3 separate regions of the Homo sapiens genome follow, and regions 2 and 3 are each linked to region 1. The links are contacts of gene promoters, found by promoter capture Hi-C in blood cells and fetal thymus (Javierre and others, 2016). All regions are on one chromosome and are shown on one strand. The core of a region is centred on a gene start or on the middle of the fragment in contact, and the rest is flanking DNA. Distances in the headings are between cores, read along the strand shown.

The links. The method cuts DNA at HindIII sites, captures the fragments that hold promoters and counts their contacts. A CHiCAGO score of 5 or more calls a contact.
Region 2: a contact is called between a fragment that was not itself captured here and the fragment with the promoter of RTP4 in region 1, in 1 of 17 cell types (megakaryocytes). The highest score is 5.1, in megakaryocytes.
Region 3: a contact is called between a fragment that was not itself captured here and the fragment with the promoter of RTP4 in region 1, in 1 of 17 cell types (M1 macrophages). The highest score is 6.0, in M1 macrophages.

Annotation. Positions count from the first base shown.
Region 1 is chr3:187,367,030-187,369,714 of GRCh38, reverse strand. It overlaps RTP4 (receptor transporter protein 4), which reads right to left and starts at 1,330. Exons shown (of 2, transcript NM_022147.3): 1 at 1,119-1,330. The coding sequence starts at 1,273. RefSeq lists an enhancer at 1,120-1,469. The HindIII fragment of the contact is 4,178 bases long and covers 1-2,685 here.
Region 2 is chr3:187,622,878-187,625,562 of GRCh38, reverse strand. No RefSeq gene overlaps it. Among named protein-coding and RNA genes, the nearest start is that of SST, 46 kb to the left of the region's middle. The HindIII fragment of the contact is 436 bases long and covers 1,164-1,599 here.
Region 3 is chr3:187,591,084-187,593,768 of GRCh38, reverse strand. No RefSeq gene overlaps it. Among named protein-coding and RNA genes, the nearest start is that of SST, 78 kb to the left of the region's middle. The HindIII fragment of the contact is 718 bases long and covers 960-1,677 here.

The DNA of each region.
Region 1 (2,685 bases), core at 81-2,580:
AAGCATATACTGTATTTGATACAATATATAATAATACATATATTATTTATAAATTTATTATTCTGAAATACATAGTACATATGTATATATAATTATATATCATTTATGTATACATATACATATATATTTTATCTTATCCCATTATCTTATGGGAATGTATACGAAGGAATACTTACTCTGCCTAGGAGAACCAGAGAATGCTTTTAGGAGGAGGAGGCACTAGAGTGGGCCTTGAAGGATGAGCAGGGAGGGGTGAGGGGAGGGTCTGCTGAACAAGCAGAACTCCATGAACAAGAGTGTGGAAGTCTGAAGATGCATGGCATAGCTAATAGTCCATAAGGAATGGAGTAGGCCATACCTGAGGCAGGATGGGGCAGGCAGGCAAGCTGAGTAATAGGTCAGATGAAAACTATACCGAAGGTCCTGTGTGTCATTTAAAAATAAATTTGATTATCCAGGTCAGCAATTCTCACCCTCCTAACATGGTCAAGGAAACTGGTTCCTGCAACCTGGAGGCTTGCTGGGGGTTAAAGAGGGAAGTGGTGAGTAAGGGAGGAGTATTACTTGGTGACTCCATGAACTGGGTTTTAGATTTAGTTTTTGCAACATCATTCTATACTATTATCCCCAGGCCTTCAGTAAAGCAATGTTCAGAGTAACTGCTTGATCTTAGCCAATTCTTAAGATATTTAAAAAAAAAAAAAAGGCTCCGTCCCAGGCTTGTACTGAACAGTGCCAAGGCTTGGAGAGCTGGTGCAGCTGGGGGAAGCTGGTCAGGACTGCTGGGGAGACTGCAAAAGACTCTAGAGGTAGTCTGGAACAAATGACGTGGTGAGAAACTAGAAGGGAAAATTTATGGAATAGGGAGCCTTCTCCAGGGTTTTCCAGAAATATTTACGGAGGGAAACCTAGTAAAAGAAGAAACTTCCAGCAGTTAAACAAAATGGAGGTTTGGAGTCGTCTTATCATGTCGACCCTAAAGAGTACTATGACCACAATAGGATGGAGGCCCTGGTGACATTTACTCCTTCAACAAGCTCTCAGAGGAATAAATCATGCTAAGCTGAGCCTGAGCCTCTCTTCTCAGAAGAGCTATTGCCTGGGAAACCCACACTCACCAGCCAAATGCTCTCTGTTGGTATTGCTTCCACCCTTGAGCCAGGCAGTCTAGCTGAAGGTTGCCATCCAACTTCAGCGTCCATGTGGCCCGGGGTTTTGCCTCTTGGATTAGTTCTTGAAATGTCTGCTCCCAAGTCCAGAAATCTACAACCATTTTTTCCCTCTGAAGCTGAGAGAGTAGCTTTCAGGTTTGCTCGTTTCTCAGGAAGAGACAAACAGTTTCAGTTTCGGTGTTCGGTTCAGTTTCTGTTTCTGTGTATGGACATGAGCTGTTTTTTTCAACCTTCATTTTAGACTGTCTGAGTACACAGAACAAGTCTTTGTTCTGAAAACAGACAGCAGCAAAACTGTGTTAGTTAATAGGCCTTGCTGAGAGAGAGATAAAGAGCTCTGTTCTAGATTCTGGGGTCACATATAAATTCGCTTTTATTTTCTCTCTCTCATTTTTTATAATAGGCAAAGTGAGAGGTGACAGCATGCTGGTAGCCCTCGCAGCCCTCGCTCGCTCTCGGAGCCTCCTCGGCCTCGGTGCCCACTCTGGCCGCGCTGGAGGAGCCCTTCAGCCAGCCACTGCACTGTGGGAGCCCCTTCCTGGGTAGGCCAAAGCCAGAACCGGCTCCCTCAGCCTGCTGGGAGATGTGGAGGGAGAGGCACGGGCAGGAACCGGGGCTGCATGCAGGGCTTGCAGGCCAGCTAGAGTTCTGGGTGGGCGTGGGCTTGGCGGGCCCTGCACTCGGAGCGGCCGGCAGGCCCCCAGCCCTGGGCAGTGAAGTGCTTAGCACCTGGGCCAGCAGCTGCGGAGGGTGCGCCAGGTCCCCCAGCAGTGCCGGCCCACCGGCACTGAGCTCGATTTCTCGCTGGGCCTTAGCTGCCTCTCTGTGGGGCAGGGCTCGGGACCTGCAGCCCGCCATGCCTGAGTCTCCCCACCCTGGGCTCCTGCATGGCCCAAGCCTCCCCGACGAGTGCCACCCCCTGCTCCATGGTGCCTGGTCCCATCGACCGCCCAAGGGCAGAGAAGTGCGGGCACACACGCAGGACTGGCAGGCAGCTCCACCTGCTGCCCCCGGGGCGGGATCCACTGGGTGAAGCCAGCTGGGCTCCTGAGTCTAGTGGGGACTTGGAGAACCTTTATGTCTAGCTAAGGGATTGTGAATACACCAATGGGCACTCTGTATCTAGCTCAAGGTTTGTAAATGCACCAATCAGCACCCTGTGTCTAGCTCAGGGTTTGTGGATGCACCAATCAGCACCCTGTCAAAACGGACCAATCAGCTCTCTGTAAAACAGACCAATTGGCTCTCTGTAAAATGGACCAATCTGCAGGATGTGGGTGGGGCCAGATAAGAGAATAAAAGCAGGCTGCCCCAGCCAGCACTGACAACCGGCTCGGGTCCCCTTCCACGTGGTGGAAGATTTGTTCTTTTGGTTTTTGCAATGAATCTTGCTGCTGCGCAGTGTTTGGGTCTGCTCTGCCTTTATCAGCTGTTAACACTCACCCGGAAGGTCTGCAGCTTCACTCTTGAGCCAGCAAGACAATAAACCCACCAGAAGGAAGAAACTCAGAAC
Region 2 (2,685 bases), core at 132-2,631, 260 kb before region 1:
GTAATAAGGGCTATGGGAGTGATAAACTGGGAACTGTGGATGAAAACACACACACACACACACACACACACACACACACATATACAATCTCATAATATCACACCATATTTTTACTATGTTCTCACATGGCTGAAGGGGGCAAATGAGCTCTCTGGGGTCCTTTTTACAAGAGCACTAATCTCATTTATGAGGGCCTCTAACCTGACCTAATCACCTCTCCAAGGCCCTGCCTCCAAATGCCATCACCTTGGGGGTTGGGTTTCAACATATGAATTTTGCAGTGACACAAATATTCAGTGTTTAGCAGGTCTATGGACACAATGAATGGTGTTAATACTTCTAAAATGGGATTAATGGTAGGGCGGCTGACGACATTAATGACAATTATTCATGGAGAACACTAAATGTTCAGAAAATAGGAATTCCTGCTGCTGTCTTTGCTACTGTTCAGCACCCAGAACTTTTCAAATTAGAGGATATCACTGCTTCCATGCACGCTCATGCCCAGAGAGTGACTCTGGCGAAGGCTTTGAGCAATAATGTAAGATAAGATAAGAGCCTGGACCCCCACCTCTCAGATGTGATACAGAAGTGAACAGGGTACTCAACAAGAATTGCTCTCATTTACTGAGCATTTTCGGTGTGCCATGAGCTGTGATGGATACCACATGGCGTCTTTTCATACAATTTTGTCAACAATGCTGTGAGGTGAGTGGAGATGTTGAGGATCGGTGCAATCTATCCCTGCTGGAACTCAGGTCTGTCTGACTCAGAAGTCCATGCTCTTAAAGCAAGCCAAATACTTGTGGAATGTAAAATGCTAACCTCTGAGCACAGCCAGTCTGGGGACTGCCAGAGTGCTCTCTGATGCAGGAAAATACATCTGAGGACAGGGAAGCCGAGTGAGGTGCCCAGAAAAGACAATTTGGAAGGTGCAGGGTGAAAATAGAATCAGTCTCTCTTTCTCTCTACACACATATACACACACATACCATATTTGTGGCATAAAGCTTTCCACTTAGAGTCAGAAAACTTGGATTCGAGTATTTGTTGCTCTTTCACTTACAGGGATGTGAACTTTGGTAAGTCATTTCCCTAGTTTTGCCACCTATAAAATGGAAAGTCAGGTATTTCTCAATTTCTTCATAGAGTAGCACAAAGCTTAAATCCTATAGATAATGGATGTGAATGTTCTTTGTAAGCAGTATAGCAGTATTAATGGTATTTGATTTTTAAAATCACTTATACTCAATATTACCAAGATTTTGGATTGCCTCCTTCCCGGAAGACTTCCCTCCCTTTTCAAAAAATCATGATCATCCTTTTAGCAATGATTCTGTCCCAGAGGACAACCATGTGGATCAGGGAAAGAACAAATTGCCTTAATTTAGTTCCAAAGATATTTGAAGAGATCAATTTCCAGAGTGTTGTCAAGGGGCGAATGTGTGGACACTGAATTTTAGTGAAGAGTAATGGCTCACCTCTGTCAATAGAGGCAACAAGGAGCATGGTGAGGGTGGGAAAGCTGCCAGCCCGTGTAATCTGCAGCTGAGAGAGGAGGCTTCCATTCGAAAGCAAAAAGAGTTAGGTGGAAAAGCTTAGTTCCTGTCTTTTTCTTTTTGGAGAAATGTAATTACTGTGTTGATGTGTTGACCATTCAGGTTTGCTTGTTTTGTAATTATTTCTTCCTTCCTTTTTCTTTGTTTATCCTACCTTAATGGGATAATTAGACCTGCAGGTGCTCATCAAATACAGTGGGTGCCTGGGAACGCACTCCCTGGAGGGTGGGTAAGGCAGGTGCCAAGAGAGGGCCAATGCAGGGGTGCAGGCACAGGGCTGAGCATTATAGCTCTCAGCACTCGTCTGACTTGGACACTCCTTCCTGAGTGGGAGGGTGCACTTGTTAAAGTGTCTGTTTCCGAGATGTGTCTCTGGAGAGCACAGAGTGAGCCAGTGTGAGGTCATCTGGGTCTGCCCCTCTCATCCATGTGGTCTGACCACTTAGCCTTCTGAGTTTCAGTTGCTTCATCTGCAAAATAGTAATAATGATGCCTCCTGCTCCTCAAGGCTGTGGGGAGAATCGCATTCACAATGTATTCTTTTATTCCCTCAAAAGGTCTTAACTGAGCAACTACTGTGTTCCAGGCACTGGGAATATAGCCATGAAAATACAAAGATCTCATTCCCTAGGGAGCTCACATTCTACAAGTAAAATGTATAGCAAGTCAGACAGTGAGGAGTGCTGTGGAGAAGCATATCATGGGAAGCGGACAGGGAGTTTCAGGGGAGGTGGGCACAGTTGCAATTTTCCTTTAGGCCAATAGGAAAGATAACATTTGAACACAGTTCTGAAGTAGGTGAGGGAGCAAGCCAGGTAGATATCTGAGGGAGGAATGTTCAGGATAGGGGAAACAGTAAATGCAAAGTGATGTGATATGTGTGAAAATACCTTATAAATGGTAAAGAATTGTCTAAGAATAGCTGTTGTTATTATAACTCTTAAATACAGATAGCCTGATAACAGAGATTTTTCATCAATATGTATTACTGCCTTGTAGTGCTACAGAAGTCTTTCTACAAGTTCCTATCAAGTCTTAGCAACTGAGCAGTTCACGGAACTCCTCGGAGAAAGGCACAAGACGGTCTCTCTAGCATTTTCACCTTCTTCACAGTATTATTCCTGTA
Region 3 (2,685 bases), core at 69-2,568, 220 kb before region 1:
AGACTCGCATCATGCACCTTCAAGAGGCTGCATAACCAACAGATGAAAATTATAGAGAACAACATTTTAGCTGACAATCAGAATGATTTTCTAACAGCTGAGCTCTCTGAAGATGACATGAGCTGCCATTACATGAGCTCAGTTCTGAGAGGCAGTGTGAACTGTCCTTGGCAGAGGAGTTGTGGTTGAGTTATTGAGACAGCCAAGTGTAAAGGGATCCCTGGAGAACCTCTGACCTGCCTGCACACTGGGAGGACTGTGCATTTGGGTGGAGCCTCGGGAAGCTCATGCCGGTTGCAGTAGGCAGGAGCCTGGCCCCTCCTCTTCCTGGGTGGAAGCTGGGATTCAATCTGATGTGAGAGCATGTTTACAGGAACCTATCTCGTGTTGCTGAGTTTTTTTCCTTTTCGCCCAATAAATTCCATTTTTCTCACCCTTCAAAGAGTCTGCGAGCCTAATATTTCATGGTCATGTGGCAAGGACCCAATTTTTAGCTAAACTAAGGAGAAAGTCTTACAACATTATGATGGAAATTAAGCTGGAGCCATCAGAAAGTCTGTCCAGCACAGAGAATGATGGTATTCCTTCGTTTAAGAGTTCAAAATCTCTGCAGCTCAAAAATCACCTATCTAGCATAACTAAACACACACACACACGTTATTTTATCTTCCTGATTACAATCATGACAACCTAAATTGATTGAGCATTTACTATATGCCACAGAAGTTTAGCTCCTCATATGCTTTATTAAATTTAATCCTTCTCACTGTCCTATTGAAAGTTTATATTATTATGTATTTCATAGATAATTATGAATATTATAAATTAAGTAACCAATAATATTCAGATATTACTAAACATCATAGGCATGTAGTGAGGGAGCCAGGATTTCAATCCAAGTGTGTTTAATACCGGGATCCTAAATACTCTGCTTTTCTGCCTCTTTTCTTCATGAAGCTTAGTACATTGGAAATGCCAAAAATAACCTGGTTTGCGCCCAGAATAACTCAATGAGAATTGGAGGGGTGCTGAAGATAAACTAAAATAATATTATGATTTCTCTGTCATGAATAAGAGACAGCTATGCTCCATTTTGCCCAAGGAAGTAAAATTATCTTATTAATGAGAGAAGCAGAAATTCACAGCCCCAGAGGAGGAAACCTTCCCAGTTTTTGTGGTTCTCCATCAGTTTTAGATGGAGGGGGCTTCTAGATGTCAACCTAATTTATGGCTGCGTCCTTGAAGTTCTTGTGCAGGAGTTGAGGTTGGGGAAGAGAGTAGGGAAAAGAGGGTCAAGTCTGCTCTCCCGAGGAAGAACTTGTTTAACTTCAGAACCTTTGGGAGTTTGAATAATTAAAGGTGTGTGTGTGAGTGTGTTGTTTCCTGTGGAAGATTTTCTGGCCATGACTTCCGGTCATCACAGCTGCTTTAGCACATGCTCAAGGAGGAGTCACTTCAAGTCTGATTCAATTTTAAAATACTAAAAGAGAAAAGAGAAAACAGAAAAGCTCTCCTGCAACTCCTCAAGACAATAAGAAAAACAAACACAGAATTCCCTATGTCAGAAAAGGAGCTCTAGAGGCTCTTTTATCAGTTTGATGTTTGCAGCCACCCTGAGATGATGTTGCAAACTTTGGATTTTTCAAACAATTGATGATTTGCATTCCAAGAGAAGCTTTTCATTTTCTCTACTTTTCTAAAGGTCATGTTATACAAGGGATTCTTGAAGCTGCTTGAGTCATTTGATTCCACAGAGACTCAGGAGCACTGTGGAAATAGCCTCAACTAAGGAATCTGGATATCTTCAAAAGTTTTCAAAGCAGGGCCCTGGAAAGCATGAGAGTTTTAAATGTTGCCTTAAAACTAGTCTGGATTTCCCTTAAAAATACTGGAAAATATTGAAAAATATTTCCTCCTAGCACTTTGGAAGGCCAAGGCAGGAGGATCACGTGAGCCCAATAGTTCAAGACCAGCCTGGCAACATAGTGAGATCCTATCTCTATTAAAAACAATTTTGAATTGATTACAGACATGCCCTTGTCCCAAGGACAAAGGAGCACAGGAGAGGCATCCACAGCAAGAGATGCCAACATATTTTGAAAAGTCTGAAAGTGGGGTAAAGACCATGCCAACACAAGGACCCCAAAAGTGGGGTGCTATGAGAAGTGAGCTGATGTGACCCACAGAACCCTTACGAATCTCAGCTGTGGCAGAAAGAGCAGGGAGAGGGTGCTGGGAGCAAAAGCAGGGAGATTAGCTGGAAGCCTGAAAAAGAATCGTGAGCACTCCGGTTCCCTTTCTTACTACAGACTACTAGGGAGTTAGCCGTGCCTCACAACACTGGAGACCTGAGGCTTGCTCTCTTGGAAAACAGAATCATTTCATTCCTGAGTTGGGGCACCACACATAGTGCAAGGCTGATGTCTAATATATGGCCTAAAACACGGGGAAGGGGAAGGGAAAGATTTGCATACTGAACCAAGGAAGTCTCATTTCACTTTCTAACCGCATCCCACCCGCCCCCTGCCCCTCCCCCTGGGCCTTGGTAGCTGGAGCTCTGGCCACAGGGCAGAATGTGTTTTTCTATGGGGAAACCAAAGGAATTCATTTAAAAAGACTTGTAGATTTTATATAAAGTGCCAAACAAAAGCTAACCAGATGCCTGAGAACTCCACAGAAAAGATA